Regions from separate parts of the Homo sapiens genome. Here regions 1 and 2 are each linked to region 3. Evidence: promoter capture Hi-C in 16 types of primary human blood cells and fetal thymus (Javierre and others, 2016). All regions are on one chromosome and are shown on one strand. Each heading gives the region's core, a stretch centred on a gene start or on the middle of the fragment in contact. The rest is flanking DNA. Distances are from core to core; before and after follow the strand shown.

The links. The method cuts DNA at HindIII sites, captures the fragments that hold promoters and counts their contacts. A CHiCAGO score of 5 or more calls a contact.
Region 1: a fragment that was not itself captured here is called in contact with the fragment with the promoter of LINC01827 in region 3 in 1 of 17 cell types (M0 macrophages); the score reaches 6.6 in M0 macrophages.
Region 2: a fragment that was not itself captured here is called in contact with the fragment with the promoter of LINC01827 in region 3 in 2 of 17 cell types (non-activated CD4 T cells and M2 macrophages); the score reaches 5.2 in non-activated CD4 T cells.

The regions. Positions count from the first base shown.
Region 1 is chr2:191,661,730-191,665,899 of GRCh38, forward strand. No RefSeq gene overlaps it. Among named protein-coding and RNA genes, the nearest start is that of NABP1, 14 kb to the right of the region's middle. The HindIII fragment of the contact is 2,932 bases long and covers 1-2,847 here.
Region 2 is chr2:191,678,986-191,682,636 of GRCh38, forward strand. NABP1 (nucleic acid binding protein 1) reads left to right here. Exons shown (of 6, transcript NM_001031716.5): 2 at 5-143; 3 at 2,961-3,032. Among named protein-coding and RNA genes, the nearest start is that of NABP1, 2.7 kb to the left of the region's middle. RefSeq lists an enhancer at 322-1,521. The HindIII fragment of the contact is 1,225 bases long and covers 1,225-2,449 here.
Region 3 is chr2:195,572,314-195,576,062 of GRCh38, forward strand. LINC01827 (long intergenic non-protein coding RNA 1827) reads right to left here and starts at 2,180. Exons shown (of 2, transcript NR_187191.1): 1 at 2,011-2,180. The HindIII fragment of the contact is 2,770 bases long and covers 1,038-3,749 here.

The DNA.
Region 1 (4,170 bases), core at 132-2,631, 3.9 Mb before region 3:
TGAAATATTTCCCCTTTGAAAAGTTTAACTTAAAAATATGCATACACATGTAAGCCACTAGAGGTAGAAAGTACTTTCACAGCAGGAGAATAATTGTGTGTGTTTACTTACTTGTATAAACATACTTAGACACTATAGAGTTAAATATATTTAGCATCAGACTTTTTAAGTTGGGGGATATTTAAGTTCTGCCATAATTTTTAAGAAAATAATTTGCTTCCTCACTAGGGAAATTGTTATAATCAATGCTAACACAGCTATTTAACATGAGTAAAGTAACGGTATCTTCAAAGAACTAGGGTGTACAAAAGCAATATAATTTGGAGAAATAAAAAGTACCCCAATAGATGAGAGATATTATTGTCTCAAGCATGAGAATTGAAAATTGGGTGTCTTGGTCATGGAGCCTTGTCCTTGATTCCTGGTGTCATAACTCTTCAATATGTGATTCATTGGATTTGTTTCTTGGTTCGTTCATCCATTCATTTCCTTGATACACATTTAGTAAAGACTTACCACTTGTGAAGCACTATGCTAAGTGCTAGGAACATAATTTATTCTGAGACAGACACATAAATTGTCAATTACAATATGTTTTATATGTGCTACTATAGAAATATGTACCAAGAACTGAGAGTAGTCCAGAAATAAAGATTCATTCTAAAGGGGCTAGACAAGACTGTATGGGGAAGAAATGGTCAGAGAGGCTTCATCGAGAATGCAAATGACTCGAGCTGGGTAAAGAAGCTCTTCAGAGTTTTTTGAGAATGACAAGGCCAAGAATTCTAAACAGGGTAAACTACATGATCAAAATCAAAGAAGCATAGAAGTGCACTTTGAATGTACTTGTGAGTAGTTTGATGTAGCTGGAGCAGGGGCTTTATGGAGTGGGGTGAGGGGAGGTTTTATGCCATACTATAAATCTTGGTCCTTTATCCAGTTGGCCAGTGATCCTTTGGCTACAATTCTAGTTTTTCTCTATAACATCTATATTTCAATGGCTAAAACCCTAGGTGTATTAGTGAAGTGTTTTTAGGTTTCAAGGAGCACAAATATGCCTCTGACTTTCGGTGATTTCAACTTATTCTAAGGATATGAGTACATTAGGAAGCAAGTATAGGAAACATTTTAATGGAATAATCAGGCCTCATGTGAAGCTGAAGCATTGTTCATTGATCTCCAGAATCATATATTAATAGCAACTCTGATATCCTAACAGCAATAATAGGGGTTGTCGTCCCACTGACTTCTCTCCTTGCTTCTTCCTCCTTCTGTTACTATTGTACTCTCTCTGTCTCAGTTTATCTGGTTCATGGTTTCTATTTACTCATTGCATCTACTAACTTATGAGCCTGGTTAGTCTCTGCTTAGTTTCCTGATTCCTACTCCACTTTGCTTTGTGCCTCCCTCCCTGTGTACTTTTGTTCAGGAAAGAATTAGCAATAGGCCCAAGACTGCTATTCCTAGAAATCTCCTTGCAAGGTTGGCTATTGATGGGTATCTGGAAATGTAGGTTTCAGCAGGGTTCTGGCCATTCCCTAAATGATAAGAGTGGCCCACTGTGTCTAAACTGTTAGTATAAACAGCATAGTTTATGCTCACCACCATGCTTTCCTTCTGGCAGTCAGGGCTTTGGTATATGCCAGGAAAAGGGTGCCTCTGTGACAAGCCCTCAATAAAAACCTTGAGCTTCCCTGGTAGGCAGTATTTCATACTGGTTGCCACACTTGATGTAGAGGACTAAAGTGCCTCTTTTTATTATTATTATTATTCTACTTTAAGTTTTAGGGTACATGTGCACAATGTGCAGGTTAGTTACATATGTATACATATGACATGCTGGTGCGCTGCACCCACTAACTCGTCATCTAGCATTAGGTATATCTCCCAATGCTATCCCTCCCCCCTCCCCCCACCCCACAACAGTCCCCAGAGTGTGATGTTCCCCTTCCTGTGTCCATGTGTTCTCATTGTTCAATTCCCACCTATGAGTGAGAATATGCAGTGTTTGGTTTTTTGTTCTTGCGATAGTTTACTGAGAATGATGATTTCCAACTTCATCCATGTCCCTACAAAGGACATGAACTCATCATTTTTTATGGCTGCATAGTATTCCATGGTGTATATGTGCCACATTTTCTTAATCCAGTCTATCATTGTTGGACATTTGGGTTGGTTCCAAGTCTGCTATTGTAAATAGTGCCGCAATAAACATGTGTGCATGTGTCGTTATAGCAGCATGATTTATAGTCCTTTGGGTATATACCCAGTAATGGGATGGCTGGGTCAAATGGTATTTCTAGTTCTAGATCCCTGAGGAATCGCCACACTGACTTCCACAATGGTTGAACTAGTTTACAGTCCCACCAACAGTGTAAAAGTGTTCCTATTTCTCCACATCCTCTCCAGCACCTGTTGTTTCCTGACTTTTTAATGATCGCCATTCTAACTGGTGTGAGATGATATCTCATTGTGGTTTTGATTTGCATTTCTCTGATGGCCAGTGATGGTGAGCATTTTTTCATGTGTTTTTTGGCTGCATAAATGTCTTCTTTTGAGAAGTGTCTGTTCATGTCTGTTAAAGTGCCTCTTGTGTGACTCCACTAGGAGAGGACCCTTAGAGGCTTGCAACTGGTTTCTTCAGACTTTGCCTTATATGCCTTTCCCTTTGCTGAATTTGCTCTGTATCCTGTCACTGTCACGGCTATAAGTAGGACTATATGTTGAGTCCTGTGAGTCCTCCTAGCAAATCATTGAACCTGGTAGGTGGTCTTGAGGACCCCTACACAGCTTTGCTTTGGGATTCTTAGAATATCTTATTCACAGCACATTACCTGGCCTTTACTAAGCTTGATCCCTGGCTATCTCTTCATTCTCATCTGATACCCCTCTTCTCATTCTAATTATGCTGGATTCCTTGTTGTTCCTCAAACTTTCCAAGAATGCTCCTGCTTTGAAACTTTGTGTTTGCATTTCCCTCTGCCTGTGCTTTCTTTTCACAGATATCTACGTGATTTGTTCCCTCACCTCCTTCATATCTTCATTCTTATCTACTCTTTTTTCCATAGTAATAGAACCACTGATTTTTGGCTGGGGACACAGCCACCAGAAAGCCACCTTCCTGATCCCCCTTGATGATAGGTGTGTATACATGAGTAAATGCAAGCCAATGGGATATGAAGAAGTTGGGTGTGCAACTTTCAGGAAACATCCCAAATTAGAGTGGGCTCTCTTTTCCCTTACCTTTTTCCTTTCTATTGAGTGAAATGGGATGTATGATGCTTGGAGTCTTGGCAGCCATTTTGAATAATGAGGCAACCTTGGAAATGGAAAGTACAGTCAATGGAGCTACAAGATAGAATAGGCTTGATAATGTGGAGGCCAATACCAAACCCCTAGAATCTACCTCTGTACTTTAACAAGAGCCAGAAATAAACTTCTATTTATGCCCAGCCAATTGGGGTTTTCTCTCACTTTAAGTTAGTACTAATCCTAACTAATAGAAGTACTTATCTCCAGTCTGACTTCTTGAAGCCAGGAGGCAGAATTATATGGTACAAAGCAAGGTACCCTATGAACTGCACTTTGTTTTAAAGGAAGTTGTGGGCATGACAGGAAGGCTGGAAGATAGAATGTTATCATGTGGGAAATGTCAGTTGTGGAAAAGCATTACAGTGATGACTCCTTCTCCCACAACCCAAATGAATCACACTTCCTTGTGTCCACATGCTTCTTTGCAATATGATGTTGCTGCTCCTCCCATCTAAAGGCAGAGGTTACCTGACCATCTCCTTGAATCTGGTTTGAGCTGGTGACTGGCTTTGACCAACAGAATATGACAAATATGACATTATGCTAGTTCCAGAGTCTAGGCCTTTAGAGACCTTGCAGCTGTGGTGCAACCATGTAAACAATACCATGGGAGTCCAGAGGTGGGAGGATCTAACTGGGTATAGAGAAGGAGATGATGGTGGGTCCAGTGAGGAGAGTTTACAAAACCTATCCTTGAGGTGAGATACCATCTTCGATGTTAAAGGAGGAGTAAGGATAGTACTGGCTTCTCTGCTGACCCTCTGTGCTTGGTTGTCACATGGAGCATTAGTTCCCAGATAAAGATTTCAAGAATCAGTAAAATCTCAACAACACACACACACACACACACACATAAAT
Region 2 (3,651 bases), core at 587-3,086, 3.9 Mb before region 3:
ACAGGACGCGTGACCAAAACCAAAGACGGCCATGAAGTGAGATCGTGCAAAGTAGCAGATAAAACGGGCAGCATCACTATTTCCGTGTGGGATGAGATCGGAGGTCTTATACAGCCAGGGGATATTATTCGGTTGACCAGAGGGTAGGTGTGCAAAAAAGTCGGGGGACCTAACAGTCTGCAGAATCGGGATTGGCCGGCTCCTGGGATCTTGGCAAGCCCTGAAGTCCCCCGCCTTTTCTGTGGGCCACTCTTGAGGAGTTTTGAACTCCTTTGGTGTTAACTTTGGGTGGTGGGCAGCGCTGGGATGTAACAGACCTTTGCAGTGAAAGGCAGTCGGTTTCAGCTGGGAAATCCGCGCCTCTACCCCGGTTTACAGGTTAAGTAGATTTTTAATTATTATTATTTTTTGGGACCGAGTCTCGCTCTGTCGCCAAGCTGGAGTGCAGTGGCGTGATCTCTCCTCACTGCAGCCTCCGCCTCGCGGGTTCAAGAGATTCTCGTGCCTCAGCCTCCCAAGTAGCTGGGACTACAGGCGTGTGCCACCACGCCCAGCTAAGTTTTGTATTTTTAGCAGAGACGGGGTTTCAGAGTGTTGCCCAGGCTGGTCTCCAACTCCTGACCTCAAGTGATCCGCGCGCCCCAACCTCCCAAAGTGCTGGGATTACAGGCGTGAGCCACCACGCCCGGCATAGATTTTTAGTTCTATTCTGAGTCAGTGAGTCTTTTTAGGAGACTGGTATAGTCCATATTTTTTCTTTTTTATAAGTTGTTTTCTCTAGTGTAGTTGCCACTCAGTTGTTTCCCACCCCTTCTCCATTTTTAATGACTTGAAATCCTGGCCAGTATTTTACATATGTTATTTAGAAATGTGGACATAAATGAAAATTATAGGTAAAGGATTTAGCATATTCTGTGATATGTCAAATTTGTACTTGGAAAAAGAGGGAAACTTTACAGTATCTGGAAGGCTCATTCTCCAAAATGATTTCTTGTGTCTTCTGCTGTAAGGTGGATGTTGCGCAAAAACCAAAGGGATACACAGAAAATGTTTGGCAGAAAGGCATCTACAATACCTTCATCCAAAAGAGTCAGTTGGCGGATAGGTGGCTTTAAAAAATACTAGAACTTTTTTTTTAAAAAATAGATTGCTTTTAGAAATTTACCAAATTTTTATCTTAGGAAGATAAAAGGGCAGAAAAGGATCTTAAAAACAGAATTTGGAAGCTTTTGAGATCAATAAAATTGTAATAATTTATCATTAACTGCAGGGAAAGTGGTGGAGATTGATGTTGGCCTAATAAGTAGAATCTTAGAAGTATTGGAAAGCACTGAGAGTAGGAGCTTAGAGCTCCTTGGTGTTACCTTGCAGGCTTACAACATCTTCAGGAAGTGAGGTAAAGTGTCATCAAAGCAGGAAGTGAGAGTCAGGACTTAGACATTTTCTTCTCATACACTGACTCATGACAGTAATTTAAACTTCCACATCTTTAAAAAACAAAAGAGAATTCCTTCTTAGGGAAGTATGGTGAGGATTGATTAGTATAATTGGAGTTTTTGGCTCCCCAAATATTTTTCACCCAATGATTGAAAGTATTTTTTACGCTAAAAACGGCATCTTATTTCAAGTATTTCATGTTCTGTAGTGACAGTCATAGGTGTTTCCATCAAAAAAATTATTGGAAAATTAAACTTATTAGTTAGGTACTATAGAATTTTAAGGGGAACAATTACCTGGGAGTACAATTTAAACGAAAATTAAAAACTATAGAAACTCTATTTACTACTTCAGTATGACCTTGAGAAGTTACTACACCTCATACTTCAGCTTCCTCTTCTGTGAAATGGGAATAATTATACCTTATTTACCAAAACAACACACTCAGCTTGGAGTCTGGCTCATTCTAAGGCCCTTAAATTCTGGTTGAATCTAAGAAAAGTAGCTTTTGAAGAAAAACATACCTAACATCTAAATAATGGTTCAAATATCAACATGTTTATCAGAATACCCTGAAAACTTACCTCAGTGTTCTCATTTCTTAAAGTGAATGTTAAATATTTTAATTGTAACCAAATTTTTTCTCAAAATATGGGTTAATTTTTATTTTAGTAAGGTGAAATGTTAATGCACTGTATCCTAAGCCACTCTTTGTATAACTTAAGAGTGGTGAATGGTGTCTTTAATAAATAACCCTTTAATTAAAGTAAAGAGAACTGTATAGTAAGTTAAAGTCATGAAGTTACCATAGTAGTTGTACAGAGAACCATTGAGAACCAAACCTTGGATTGATTTTATAATATTAATTTACCTTTTTCTTAGATATCTAGGATTATTTTATGTAGTGATGCTGTCTGCTTTCAAAATTGTTCGGAGTAAACATTTGCCAGTTTGTTTACTACAAACCCAGCATGGTATTAAAAATCACATGTTTGGAAAGGCAGATAGGTGAAGCTTTGTGACCTTAGTGTTTTTTTTAGCACTTTGAAATTCTACCAGATCTTCGGTAGCTTAGGAATCCTGTGTCTTTTATGGAGGCAGAAGGAAAACTGTTATATCATTATTTGACTAGACTGTAAATGAAACATTAGGATGATTTTACATATCTTGTGGCTGAAAAATAGTTTCTGTTTAAATTTCTGCAATTAAAAGCTTTTGTTTTGTTAATTGACTAAAGATGTGATCATTGGGTATAATAATACTGGCTTTGCGAAAAGACTTATTTTCCAGAATTTGTTATGATTTAGATAATTATGTCAAAATTCGACAGAATTTTTGTATTCTTTTGTAAATAGCAAGTTATCAAAGTTAGATTTATTGTATTTGATTTACTATGGTGGATAGAGAGGGCTTGATCCTCACTTCTACCTTAATACAAAAAATATATAGTGTGAAGATTTACTTGATTTAAATAGAAGAAAATAAATATATTTCTAAAGAATTAATGTTTCTTTTCTCTCTAGGTATGCATCCATGTGGAAAGGATGTCTGACACTTTATACTGGAAGGGGTGGTGAACTTCAAAAAATTGGGGAGTAAGTATTAAAATGCATTTTGTATAATTGCATATATTATAAATAATATCTACGGAATGATTGGTAGGTATGAATTGTAAACCTCTTTGGCTTTTTTGACTAGTAAACTGAATGTCTTTGGTAGCTTAATTGAAAAAATAACTTCGTGTATACAAATTTAACACTTGTCAGTACTGTTTTCTGTGGTTAAAAGTGTCAATTTTTCCTGGCAAAGAGCAGTAGAAGAAGCTGCAGTTGAGACCAGCCCTAGTGGAAGCATTTCTGTAGGTTTTAGAAATGTGCATTTTTTAGGTGTCACAAGAGCCATTTGAAGTAGATTCTCTTTTGTAGTGATTCACCATATACGAAGCTAGTGATTCACCAAGTTTCAGGCCATAAGTTTAAATTTTCTTTTTCTATGGTTATGGGTGAATATGTACTCATGTTAAAAAGGACTTGCAGCAACGAAAACTGAAGTCCTCTATTTATCCACAGTCTAGGTGCGGTGCAGGCAGCCGCAATGCGAGATTCCATACACTACTACCCTGGTAATGATCTCCACCCTGACCTGGAGGAGCCATCCTCTCTAGGGGTGTAAGGTAATTCAGCCTCCATGTTAGCCTAGACATTGGGTTGTATT
Region 3 (3,749 bases), core at 930-3,429:
GGAGCCAGGAAATTCAAGGGATTGCTTTGTCTCCTAAGACCTAGAAAATCATTAATCTCACTCAAATTTAAGAGTTCAGTTACAAGTAAAAGGAAATCCAATCAAACAACTTAAACAACCAAGGGAATGTATTGGCCGATGTGACTGACGAACCAAAAACTGGGCAGATTTTAACAAAACCAGTAGTCCCATAATGTCAATAAAGACCTGCTTTCTTTCCACTGCTGCACTCTATCTCCTGTGAAGCAGTTTTCGTCTTAGGCTGCGTCTTCTAGTGTAGTCAGAAGCAACCACAGTTACATGCTTCCTAGTTCATATCTACAAAAGCAGAGAGTACCTTTGAAGCAACTCCCATGGATCAGACAAGAATTTTCTTTTCCAAAAACTTCAGCAATTGGCTGGCAGTGGTGACTCAGGCCTTTCACCCTAGCACTTTGGGAGGCTGAAGTGGGCAGAACACTTGAGCTCAGGAGTTAGAGACCAACCTGGGCAACATAGGGAGACCCTATATCTACAAAACATCAAAAAAATTAGCCGGGTATGGTGGCCCCCTCCTGTGGTCCCAACTTCTTGGGAGGCTGAGGTGGGAGGACCACTTGAGCCCAGGAGATCGAAACTGCACTGAGCCATGATCCCGCCATTGCCCGTCAGCCTGGATGACAGAGCGAAACCCAGTCTCAAAAACAAAAAAAAAAAAACAAACAAAACTCCAGCAACTGTCTCCTTTATTGTCCATTAATGGTTCACATGCCTACTCTGAATCAGTCACATGGACAGAATGATGTAATAATGCTGATTAGTGTAAGACAAACAGGTTCTCTGGAGGTGGGCAATCCAGCCCAAGCCATGCTCAAAAACATACTGTTTGTTTAAAGTAGAAAAGGCTCTGGATGGTGAGAAGGGATTTTACAAATGTCAGTGTAAGCTCTTGCTACTGCTTCTCTCTGCATGTCTATTCTAGGTTGCTCTTGTAGGCTGGCTCCACATGTAAGGATTTTACTTTGGGTTCCCTCATAATTTAATGTTCATGTAGCTGAAGCTTGCCATAGAGGTCTCACACTAAATACCTGTGACCCGACAACTCCAATTCTCATCACTTAACTATGACTTTTGTGTCTCAGTGAAATTTTTTCAAACAATATCATCTAGTTGGCTTGGCCTAACCTATGGATCGACTCTCAGAGTAGGTCTCCCCACCCTGGTCCAATCATCATAACCAGGGAGTAGGGTCATATGATATAAACATAGATGACTAGGCCCATCTGTTCAGCAGGGGAACAGATTCTTTTAGAAGGGAATGTGGGCAGAAAGGCAATTATATACATCTCTAACCAGAAAAATCCCAGGGGTGGAAATGATAGGAAGAAATGGCACCAAATTTAAAGATAAAAGAAAAGCTGCCACTGTAATTCAAAATTAGACAATGTAACTGATCATAGACTTTTGCTATAATCGCTATTTTGGCCTTATAATCTCTGAAATTTACTTTACAGAACAGTGAAACACTTCTTTGAGGAGAAACATTATAGAAGAAAACAATCTTTGATCTAGAAACCTAAAAAGATATTTATGCTCATTATATTCCAGGTGCTGAAGAGTGTCAAAGCACAGCTAAATATTATGCCATTTGTGCAGACTCGGAATGAGTTTAAGCACTGAAAGAGCTACCAGAATACCCCAGCAGAACATCTCAAAACAAAGCATTATTTCTCTCTTAAGAAAATTACCAGGCTGGGCACGGTGGCTCACACCTGTAATCTCAGCACTTTGGGAGGACGAGGCAGGCGGATCTACCTGAGGTGAGGGGTTCGAGACCAGCCTGCCCAATGCGGTGAAACCCCGTCTCTACTAAAACTAAAAAAAATAGCTGGGTGTGGTGGCGGGCACCTGTAATCCCAGCTACTCAGGAGGCTGAAGCAGGGAGAATTGCAGTGAGCCGGATTGCACCACTGCACTCCAGCCTGGGCGACAGAGTGAGACTCCATCTCAAAAAAAAAAAGGGAAAATTACCTATTTGCACTTCTTGATTTCCAGGAAGGTGTTAGAGATCTTCATCCCATCCCCAGCCCAAGTCTAGACGTGTTCACCGGAAAGGAAGAAGTTTTTGAGTTCTCAGCAGTAGCTGTGGCTCTAAGGAAAGCAGTGTTGTATGGGTATTAGAGTAGTACAACCAAAGCTCTGCTGGAACAAAAGAGGAACACAGAAAGCTAGGAATGACAAGTGTTTTTCTTCCCTCTCATATGATTCAGTCAGGCTGTCTTTGACCTACATAGCCATCTGACTGGCCACTGTTTTCTTTTCTTTCTTTTCTTTTTTTAGAGATGGGATCTTGCTGTGTTGCCCAGGCTGGACTGAAACTCCTGGGTTCCAGTGATGCTCTCTCCTGAGCTTCCCGAGCAGCTGGGACCACAGGCATACACCACTGCACTGCACTGCACTTGATTAGGTATATTTTAAAATGTAAAATAATAGTGAAAGGATTCTCCCTAGTCCCCATAAACCTGGGAATGGATCGAGGTGAGGACACCAAAACTTTCCCCTGAGACATGGAAATTGCACTGAATGTTTCTTGATGGTTCTAATGCATTAAGAATTAAGAGCTCTTTGCCTAGATTACCCCCAAAATATTAAAAATAACAAAACAAAGTAGAACTAAGGAAAAATATAAGACACATAGAGAAAATGTTTTTCAAAAAATGTTATTTGACCTATGGCTAATTCTGATTTTAAAAGCAGTTAAACAAACGAAACACAACCTAGTGATGCTTACGACTGAAGAAACCATTGATACCTGAAAGAAGGGAAGACTTTAGATATAAAGGCAGAGTGGAATTTTTTTAACCAACATTTCATGCAGCAGCTCCACATGGCCTTCCCATGTCTCAATAGCTTTGATTTGTGGAAATAATGGTTATGCAATTTCCACATATTGTGCTCCAATCACAGCATGTAAGCAACAATAAAAAGAAAACAACTAAATGTACTTGAAGCTGGAGATTTTGATAAGGTTTTCTTTTCACTTCACAAAGTTTGTTAACTGGATATTTTTCTAAGGCAACTGAAATATTCCTGCTGAGTTTCAGACAGATATATGTAAAAGCAGCAAAGTGTCTGATTTTCTTAAATGTATCTATGGCAGCAACACTAGTTAATTTAGTTGTGAAAAAATAACCAAAAAGAAACTATCGGACTATAAGAATTCCACAGTTGGCAGACTGTTGGTATTTCTCTTTCTCTTTAAATATATATATAAATATATCTATAAATATATATAAATATCTATAAATATATCTATAAATATATATATTAAATATATATATGCCATCTGTTTACAAAAGATGAGAAATGTTGGAGAAAATTATTTCCCTTAGGGTATAATGTTATGGCCATTCAGAGAGAGGTCTCTGGTATTTTCAAGGAGAATTTGGTACAAGAACAAGACAGCATCAGGTCTGCACAGTCATTGGCTGCAAAAAACAAAGATGATTTCCTTTAGTCCCTGTTTTAGTTTTACTCTTTGAACTTCCAAGTTTATTTATTGTTATTATTTTTAATGTGGCACAGATTGTTTTAAGAATCAACTTGGTTCCCTTTTTTGAAGTCCTTTTTTTTTTTTAATTTGTTGAGACTGGTTTCTAAAGTGCTCCACCTCCACCACCTGTCATTAGATGGGGGGCTGCGGCTTGGAGAACACTCACAGTTCTGAGTTCAGCTGTGGACGGAATAATGAAGGGCAGCTGCAGAAGGAG